Linked DNA regions of Homo sapiens: all the other regions are linked to region 2. The links are contacts of gene promoters, found by promoter capture Hi-C in blood cells and fetal thymus (Javierre and others, 2016). All regions are on one chromosome and are shown on one strand. The core of a region is centred on a gene start or on the middle of the fragment in contact, and the rest is flanking DNA. Distances in the headings are between cores, read along the strand shown. Region 1 holds the start of BTN1A1 (butyrophilin subfamily 1 member A1). Region 2 holds the start of H3C11 (H3 clustered histone 11). Region 3 holds the start of ZNF322 (zinc finger protein 322).

Region 1 (3,289 bases), core at 185-2,684, 1.4 Mb after region 2:
CCAGCACGGCCGGCGAAACCTTCTTTCGGAACCAGCGTAGCTCCAAGTGCTCGGCGCTCGCGTTCGGAGACAGGCGACAGGGCAGCTCGGCGTCCTCACCCACAACGGCCAGGATGGGCTCCGGGGGTCCAATCACGTCAAAGGGAGCTGCCGAAAAACGAGCGGGATCAGACGGGATGTGGAGATGGGAACTACGGACAGACACCGACCAGATTCCCGCCAAAGCGCAGTGCCCCGCGCTCTCTTACTCCTTTGACAGCTGAGTTTGTCTGGATCCAGTGGAGGTCTCCAGGGAGAGCCAAGTGGGATTGTTTATTTTACATTTATTGATATATTTCAACTATGCAGCCCAGAGAGAGAGAGAGACTTACCTGAATCCAGTTTGGGCAGCTGGAGGAGAATGAGGGTGAGCAGACATCTGGGGAGACCGGAGCTTGGGAAAACTGCCATCTCCCACCCTTCTGGAGCAGCAAGATAACTGATGTGAGTCCCCTCAGGAGCTTCAGCCTAGGAGATGAATGGACAGGAGACAACTACCGGCTCTGTCAACCCTCCGCTTTCCAAAGTCCTCTCTACAGTTCTTTCCAGCTGCAAGTGTTCTGGTCATTTGCCCCTGAAACCTCCTCTCAGCCTCCATCCCCAGTATGGATTTTTAGTTTACACTGTGGTTATCACCTTCCCACCCACTACTCTAACTCTAAAACTTAGGAGAAGGGAACTGTGAGGCATAACACTCATTAGTTGGTTGCATATCGATGAACAAATCTTGGAATCACTGCACTAAAAAAAAAGTCTCCTTTTTATTTATTTATTTATTTATTTTTGAGACAGTCTTGCTCTGTTGCCCAGCTTGGAGTGCAGTGGCATGATCTCGGCTCAATGCAACCTCAGCCTCCTGGGTTCAAGCGATTGTTCTGCCTCAGCCTCCGGAGTAGCTGGGACTACAGGCGCGCACCACCATGCCCCGCTATTTTTTGTATTTTCAGTAGAGACGGAGTTTCACCACGTTGGCCAGGCTGGCCTCGAACTCCTGACCTCGTGATCCACCCGCCTTGGCCTCCCAAAGTGCTGGGATTACAGGCGTGAGCCACCGTGCCTGGCCAAAGTCTTTTTTCAAATACAAGAATTTGGTATTTGCTTTTGGCAATGATAATAAAGATAAGGGTATAAAGGCAGAAATGGAGTCCAAGGAAATGAATTGGAGAAGAGAGAAAAGATGGGAGGAGATGGAGCAAGAAGCAGGAGCTGAAGCAAGCAAAAGGGCTTGAAGAGTAGAGGGCCTAGGACCAAGGAGAAAGGAGCTGGAGGGAGAGAAGTATGCTATGCCCCTCTGGCTGCTCACTCCCTCAGGGAGCTGAGAGTAACCACACATACTGACCTGGGTGATCTTGGAGAAAAAGGCACAAGAGGCCACTGCTACCAAGTGAGAAAGCTGGCTGTGGCCCCCGGGGCAAAAGTTAAAAGCCAGCAGGAAAAGGAAGCGGGAGGTGCTCTCAGGAAAGCCTGCCTCCAGGTGGCCTGGTATATTCACTCTGAGGAAAAAAAAAAGGGAGATGAAAAGTTTTTCAGAGAGATGGAAAACTGGATTTGTGGTCTTCAGCTCAGAAATCAAGATATGCATTGATGAGCTGGACCAAATGAAAGGCAGAAAAGAGAAAAAGAGAAGAGAGGCAAGGAAACACACAAATGAGATGTGATGGCTTCAGCCAGTTATTTCCTCTTTCCAAGCCTCAGTTCTTTGATCTCTAAAATGGTAATAATATTGATCATACCTTTCTTGAAGAGGTGTTGGGAGGATTAAGTGAGATTAAGCAGGTAAAGTGCTTAGCACATAGTAGGAACTCAGCGGAGGATAAATTGTTATTCTATTATTATTTCTGCGGGTTGAAAAATGAAAGCCCAGAGGCCAAGGTAGCAGTAGCCTCTGTCTATAGCCATCTTCGTTATTGGAGCGTCCGTCCACCTTAGGTGCTGTGTCTGTTGGAACAACTCCATTAAAGGCCAGTCTTAAGGGTAGGCTGTGAATTCTGTTTACAGGGCCCAAAAGTTGCCTCCCTGACAATTATTTCTTTTGAAGCAACTCATCATGAGGCCTACAATTCCTTAATTTATACTAAACCTACCTCTCATTGTTATGAAAAAATTTAAAAATACAGAAAAATATTTTTATAAAATGGAGGTCACACTTAATCTACTAACTAATGATAGCCTCAATTCACATTTTGGCATAGTCCTTCCAAGATTTATTTTATGCTTATGTATATCATAAAAGCAATCAATTAGACTTTTTGTGTAACTCAAAATATTGTTAATAGTTGTATAATTGCCATGATTGTGGGACATTTGGGATTTTTTTCCTATTGTAAATAATACACTTTATATATAAGTCTTTATTTGCAAATTGGATAATGTCCTGATAAACTGTTTAATAAATTTCCAGAAATAGAGTCATCAGATCAAATGGTATAAGCATATTTCTTTTCTTTTCTTTTTTTTTTTGAGACGGAATCTCACTCTGTCGCCTAGGCTGGAGTGCAGTGGCGTAATCTTGGCTCACTGCAACCTCCGCCTCCAGGGTTCAAAGGATTTTCCTCTTGCCTCAGCCTCCTGAGTAGCTGAGATTACAGGCACGTGCCACCATGCCCAACTAATTTTTGTATTTTAGTGGAGACAGGGTTTCACCATGTTGGCCAGGCTGGTCTCGAACTCCTGAGCTTCAATGATCTGCTTGCCTTGGTCTCCCAAAGTGCTGGGATTACAGGTGTGAGCCACCATGCCCGACCTAGTATCAGCATATTTCTACAGTCCCTTCCTGAAATGTTGAATCCATCACACCCTCAATGGAGGTGCCCTCACCTAATCCCTGCTAGCACTGAGAAGTTATTATTTCACATCCTTACTATTGGGATGGGTCAAGTTAATTAAATTATTATTTATTGTGCCTTTATATGTTAGCGAGGCTGGAGTTTTTTATGTGTTAATTAGACATTTAATACATTCTAGAAATGAGCTGTTCAGGCCAGTTGCCCATTGTTTTCAAGACTGGTCCTGGTGCTAGTTCTTAGCAATCTGTGTGAATTTTAATAACTTAAAAATATCAATCCTGTATTATATTTGTAACAAACATTCTTCCCAGTTTTGTTATTTATCTTTGAGTTGGAATTGTGATTAAGACAAAAGACAGTTGCTCCATTTCACCCACCAGACTGCCAAGAGAATGATCTTTCCCAAATGCAAATCTGATCATATCACTTTTTGCTTAAAAATCCTTCCACATCTCCCTAGTGAC
Region 2 (3,179 bases), core at 11-2,510:
CAGCTGGTGTGGAGAGTTCCCAATCAGGTCCGATTTATTACTATATAAAGTACTGCTGCGAGGCTTGCCGTGTTGCATTTTGTTTAGTACAAGACATGTCTGGGCGCGGCAAAGGCGGGAAGGGTCTGGGCAAAGGAGGCGCTAAGCGCCACCGCAAAGTTCTGCGCGACAACATTCAGGGCATCACCAAGCCCGCCATCCGACGCCTGGCACGGCGTGGAGGCGTTAAGCGCATCTCAGGCCTTATATACGAGGAGACACGCGGAGTTCTTAAAGTGTTTTTGGAGAATGTAATCCGCGATGCAGTTACCTACACGGAGCACGCCAAACGCAAGACAGTCACAGCCATGGACGTGGTTTACGCGCTCAAGCGCCAGGGCCGCACCCTGTATGGCTTTGGCGGCTGAGTGTTTTACTTACTTACACGGTTCCTCAAAGGCCCTTCTCAGGGCCACCCATGAAGTCTGTGAAAGAGCTGTAGACTAAAGATAGTTAATTTCTTAAGAACACTTAAACGTATGGCAGTTTTGGCAAATTAGCGATTCCACATAAGCAGTCGCTGAAGTTTGAGGTTCGGTGCCCCTTTCAGCATTACTTAGTGGTTAAAAGTGCCGGCTTCTCTGATACACGGCCAAATCTATAACGCCTCTCTGGTTTTTGCAAAAGTCATAATGAAACAGCCGGTCTCATTTATCTTGTATCGATTACTTTACCGCTACCAATGCGAGGGCTGTGTAACTATGACACTGTGGTCCGCAACGCCCAAAATGTTTTAATATCGCCCTTTACAGAAAAAGTCGGCCAACTTCTAAAACATTAAGTACGTTTAAATTTGAGAAATACTGGCATACCACAACGCTCGAATTTCATATCCCCTTCAATGCCTCCATTTACAAATTTACTCTAGTTTCACTTTTCCTTTACGTTCTTTAACTTTTTGTCAAATCAGTAATGACACCTCGTAATTAAAATAGTGCAAGGCAAGTTTAGATTTATCAAGCTTATATTTAAACAGGATTTTGATGCATGAAAAATCCTAGACTTTTGGGGGATTTTTTTTTGTTTCCGTTTTTGTTTTTCTTTAGCTAGCAAAACCATTTTACGTTTCTTGACCCAAAACAGAGGCGGAATGTCTCCCTTTCACTAGCAGATTAAACTGGGAGCCAATTCCGTGTGTGAGACGTGGCATGGCACAGTCTACTGTCCAATCAGAACGCGAGGGCAGCTATAAATACCGGGATGATCAGTTTTTTTCTCTCATTTGTGTTGAGTAGGTACGTCTACTTAGCCATGGCACGAACAAAGCAAACAGCTCGCAAGTCCACCGGCGGCAAAGCGCCGCGCAAGCAGCTGGCCACCAAGGCGGCTCGCAAGAGCGCTCCGGCCACCGGTGGCGTCAAGAAGCCCCACCGCTACCGCCCCGGCACCGTGGCCCTGCGCGAGATCCGCCGCTACCAGAAGTCGACCGAGCTGCTAATCCGGAAGCTACCTTTTCAGCGCTTGGTACGGGAGATCGCACAGGACTTTAAGACCGATCTGCGCTTCCAGAGCTCGGCGGTGATGGCGCTGCAGGAGGCTTGCGAGGCCTACCTGGTGGGGCTATTTGAGGATACCAACCTGTGCGCCATTCACGCCAAACGCGTCACTATTATGCCTAAAGACATCCAGCTTGCGCGCCGCATCCGAGGGGAGAGGGCATAAATATTCCTATCAGCCCAAGAAGTCTGTCCAACCCCAAAAGGCTCTTTTCAGAGCCCCTCAATTGTCACCAAAAGGAAGCTGTAGCTTTTGAGACGTGTCTTAGCTCCATGTTAAATACAAGCTGTGGACAAAACGTGGTAGTGGCCCAACACACTATAATGCAGGAGTCAGGTCACAGGCTGTTGGTATGCTAAATCAATTTCACATACAGAACCTGTTCCTACTGATAAGGATTATCACTCAAAAAAGACATGTCATGGGGTCAATTTTACAGATGAAGTTTAGTTTTGAAAAGTATTCCTGTTTTTATCCTTGAGGAATGTGTCTCCTGCGTATCTACCTGCCCCTACTGAAGGGAACAAGTAGCACAATGAGTGTCCACAGGCTCTGGTGAGGCCGAGGCAGGCGGATCACAAGGTCAGGAGATCAAGACCATCCTGGCTAACACGGTGAAACCCCCCTGTCCACTAAAAAAAAGACTGCCGGCCGTGGTGGCACGCGCCTGTAGTCCCAGCTACTCGGGAGGCTGAGGCAGGAGGATCGCTTGAACCTGGCAGGCAGAGGTTGCAGTGAGCCGAGATCGCGCCACTGCCCTCCAGCCTGGGCTACAGAGCGAGACTCCGCCTCAAAAATACAAAAAACAACAGGCTCTAAAAACTACACACATGAGAGTGGAACAATAGACAATAAGGACTCAGAAGGGAGGAAAGAATGAATGATAAGTTACTTAATTGGTACAATGTAAGCTATTTAGCTCTTGTATAGCCCATGTAACTTGACCACCTTGGAGCATATGCACATAACAAAGTTGCCATCGTACCCCATGCAAGTAACAGTTTTGACAAAAAGCTCGACACTTTTGTTCTGTTTCAATGTAATGTTTAGCAAGCCATGTGTTAGGTAGTGGGCCTCTGAGGAGGGATACTTTAACCTACTGCATGCTGTCATCTATGAAATGAACTTCTAGCTCTAAGTGGACCTTAAAAAATATTTTCCTGTCATTTCACCATATGCTTGTCATAGACTGTGGAGTTGGATTTTCATGAGATTTTTTCTTTCTTTTTTTTTTTCAGAGAGAATCAGTCTGGGTATTAAACTTCAAGTGGTATTTTAAAGCTCTTCCTGGTTTCTAACCAAACTTTTCCATTATTTCCAGCTGTTTTAGAGTTTCCTCATGTGCTCTACATATGTGACTATCATGACCTCATTTTGCTCTTAAACTTTTTGAAGCACACATCTTGACCTAGGAGATATCTGGCAGAGATGTGAAGGCAATTTTTCTCCCTAGTGCTCTCAGCCAGCTCAGCCTCATATCTGTGCCTTCCTTTCTCATATTGGATTCACTCTTGCAAAGAGGCATGTATCCCAGCAACTGGTGCAGCGGTGTCCGATCTTTTGTCTTCCCTGGGCCACGTTGGAAGAAGAATTGTCTTGGGCCACACCTAAAATACAGGATCACTAAAGATAGCTGACGAAAG
Region 3 (3,008 bases), core at 4-2,503, 1.2 Mb after region 2:
ATTCTACACATATTCAGACCTTGTTATATGCAGTGCAGAGATCAGAATCCAACTTGCTTAATTTTTATTCCAATAATTTTACACAATACACTCACCACTATTGAGGTAGCCATAAGTATAGTGACTGCAAGCACAGAATCTGGCATCAGACTGTTCACATTACAGCTTCATCAGTAATATGTGATCCTGGGCAAGCTACTTAATCTCTCTGTGCACCAGTTTCCTCCTAAAAGAATACATATCTCACACGATTTTTGTTACAACTGAATGAGACAATAGTGTAAAGTTATTAGAACAGTGTTTGATACATGCTACACACTCAAAATGTTATTATTCAAAATATTAAGACAACCCTGAGTGGAATATTTTGACCTTGAAAGTTTCATTAAAAATAAACATGAAAGTAGAATAAGCTGTAGACCCTCTGCGGAAGAATTCCACTAGTAGGAACATGATTAGTTAATACTGAATACGTGTCTCAGAGACTGCGCTCCCCAATTACTAAACCTCAGCAACTGGCTCACAATCCAAGTCCTTGGCCAGGCTGCCCAGGGTTTAGTTTTCCATATTCCTACTACTCATCTTTTCCCTTTGATAGCTGAGGACATTTAAAAACTGTTTTTTGTTGGTTTGTTTTTTTTAATTTAACAATTGAGCTGGGAGAATACCCAGTGTTCAACCTAAAGAACTGAGTTCTGTTCCAGCCCCACCACTAGGTGATTTACTCTTAGCTGATTCCAAATCAGAAACATAATCAGCAAGGACTGGGGAACCTCCCACAGTACTTTCTCTCGCTGCTGTTTTCTCCACCCACACAAGTCCACCACTTTTAAAAGCATTTCTTCCATCTCGCTGGCCACATCTTCGTGGATGACAGCGCTGCCACTGTGCTTCAGAATCCTCTATCTCTCCCAGATCTTTCCTGGTGTTTCTCTCAGGGTCAGTGGCATCTAATCTTTGTGACTCTACTCCTGGTTTGAGTCCTCGGTTAACAGCCTTGGGGAAACTGTAACATAAACTGCAACGCTGTTGGTGCCGTTTCTTCTTAGACAGGGTGGCAGCGATCGCCTCCCCCCGCAGCCGGCCTTCCACTGCGCCAGCAAGACCCCCTCCCACCAAAACGCCGAGGGCTCCCAGAGCGCAGGCGCCCCGGGCCCCGCCCCTTTCCGAAGACTCGGCTCCTATTGGCCCAGGGGCCGGGGTTGGAACGCCCTAGTGGCCGGAGAGGGGTGATCATGTGACTTGCGGGGGTGGGGCTGCGCCGGCCTCTTCCCAGCCAGCTTGAAAGGGTTTGCGTAGCCGGCCTTGTGGGCCCTTGAAGCGCTCTGTTAAAGCGCTCTGTGGGCGGCCTGGCCCCAACTCCTCTAGTCTAGGCGCACGAAGGGAGTTGCTCCTAGGTCTTGTCCGTGCCGGGTTCGCTTTTCTTTCCTTCCCGAAGCCTGGCCCTTAGATCTACTATCGCAGAGTCTGCGGCCGCCAGGAAGCCCAGATTCGAGTGTCCGGAGAGTAACCGGAAGTGCTGTCCCCAGGCCTAGGGGCGGCGCCGGCGGCTGCCAGGGTAAGCGCGGCCTGCGGGGCCCAGGGGTGGGATGGGTGCGCGGTGGGACCCAAGACCCACGGCCACAGTCGAGTGGGAGCAGCCCCTGTTCCTGGACACTGAGCATGGTCTGGTCTCCGCTGACGGCGGACGGAGGACTGAAAGATGGTCAATGAAAAGTTGAAAGAAGAGAACCTTAGTACGGTAGTTCCTAGAGATAGTAAACACTGCAAGGCACTTTTCAAAGCAATATAATCTTTCATATATATCGAGGAAAAAAAGGACCTTGAATGGATTTTTCGCTTCATCTTCAGTGCAGAAATTAGTTATGTTGCAGTTGAATCTATCTGCAGAAAAATCTGGTTTGTTTAATCTTCCTATAACCATTTCTTTTTGGAAAATGGAATTACAGATAACTTTATATTATATACACTTATCACATGCACTTTGGGGTTTGTAGTGGTAGACGAATGGGTCTTTGATCTTAGGAGTTGAGATAATACAAACAAAAACAATTAGCAGAAGGAGAAAAAACAAACGAAAAACGAGGCTTAGGGCTTTGTTATGAAGTTACAGTTAGTAATAGAAAGATTCTTGACATTTTGTCTAGAGCTGGTCGGAACTGATGGCTACCAGTGGCAGGTACTTCCTGCAGGAGAAACAGTGTAAGCAAAGATGGGAAGAGGTAAGCTATGGTTGAAGGATGCTCACTAGAATGGAGAGGAAATGGGACCAGTTTTCTAGGCCAGCTCTAGAAAAATTATGAATTATAAATTTCACAAGGTCATCGTCTACATTATTGATTTTTCCTCTAGGAGAGGCAAGAATTGAGTGTTGTGAATAGTTCTGAACTAGAGACCTTTTGAAACCAAAAGGAAGATGGTCTTGAGTCTTTCTTGTTACGGTAAGTGGTATACCAGGCTCTGTTTCTGTATAAATGTGGATGGGGGTGTGGGGTGGGGCAGGGTGAAAGACAGGAAAGTATGGGAGAAGATATATGGAAAAAGAGAATGCCCCTTTCTTAGCTCCTAAGATAGCAGAGTGATAAAACTGAGCCCTATCCTACCAACTTAAGGCTATTTTCTACTCCTTTTCAACATGCATGCATATTCACATTAGGCTTGCAGTAATTGCTTTTTGATTGATTTGTAGCACAAAGAGGGTAGTATGCCTAATGCTTAGGCAGGCTCTGGAGTCAGAAGATAGGTATTGAAATCCTGGCTCTGCTGCTTACTATTTGTAAGTTGTTGGGTGATTATCTAACTGCCCTAAGCATCAGGTTTTCCATCTATAAGATCCAAACACTGGTATTAATACCTATTTCATAGGGTCCTTGGGAGGACTAAATGAGATAATCCATGTAATCAATGAAAAATAAATGAGAAATTTCCAAGTCTAAGGCCTATAAACACCATCTAATTTTTAAATAATGCTTTACTAACTTTGTCTCTTGGTCCCATATACCCTTTAA

Evidence for each region. The method cuts DNA at HindIII sites, captures the fragments that hold promoters and counts their contacts. A CHiCAGO score of 5 or more calls a contact.
Region 1: the fragment with the promoter of BTN1A1 here is called in contact with the fragment with the promoter of H3C11 in region 2 in 2 of 17 cell types (monocytes and M0 macrophages); the score reaches 8.7 in monocytes.
Region 3: a contact is called between the fragment with the promoter of ZNF322 here and the fragment with the promoter of H3C11 in region 2, in 1 of 17 cell types (monocytes). The highest score is 12.4, in monocytes.

What each region holds. Positions count from the first base shown.
Region 1 is chr6:26,498,448-26,501,736 of GRCh38, reverse strand. BTN1A1 (butyrophilin subfamily 1 member A1) reads right to left here and starts at 1,434. Exons shown (of 8, transcript NM_001732.3): 1 at 1,379-1,434; 2 at 372-507; 3 at 1-147. The coding sequence starts at 450. The region is part of intron 1 of LOC107986583 (a long non-coding RNA gene); the gene reads left to right. RefSeq lists an enhancer at 16-145. The HindIII fragment of the contact is 5,298 bases long and covers 1-3,289 here.
Region 2 is chr6:27,870,427-27,873,605 of GRCh38, reverse strand. It overlaps H3C11 (H3 clustered histone 11), which reads left to right and starts at 1,260. Exons shown (of 1, transcript NM_003533.3): 1 at 1,260-1,761. The coding sequence starts at 1,291. The coding sequence ends at 1,701. It overlaps H4C13 (H4 clustered histone 13), which reads left to right and starts at 72. Exons shown (of 1, transcript NM_003546.3): 1 at 72-458. The coding sequence starts at 96. The coding sequence ends at 407. RefSeq lists enhancers at 1-91, 392-441, 1-510, 2,426-3,063, 3,064-3,179. The HindIII fragment of the contact is 2,761 bases long and covers 1,003-3,179 here.
Region 3 is chr6:26,657,991-26,660,998 of GRCh38, reverse strand. It overlaps ZNF322 (zinc finger protein 322), which reads left to right and starts at 1,253. Exons shown (of 4, transcript NM_024639.5): 1 at 1,253-1,558; 2 at 2,353-2,441. RefSeq lists enhancers at 843-1,042, 1,063-1,122, 822-1,322, 1,353-1,542, 1,553-1,602 and 1 more. The HindIII fragment of the contact is 5,113 bases long and covers 1-3,008 here.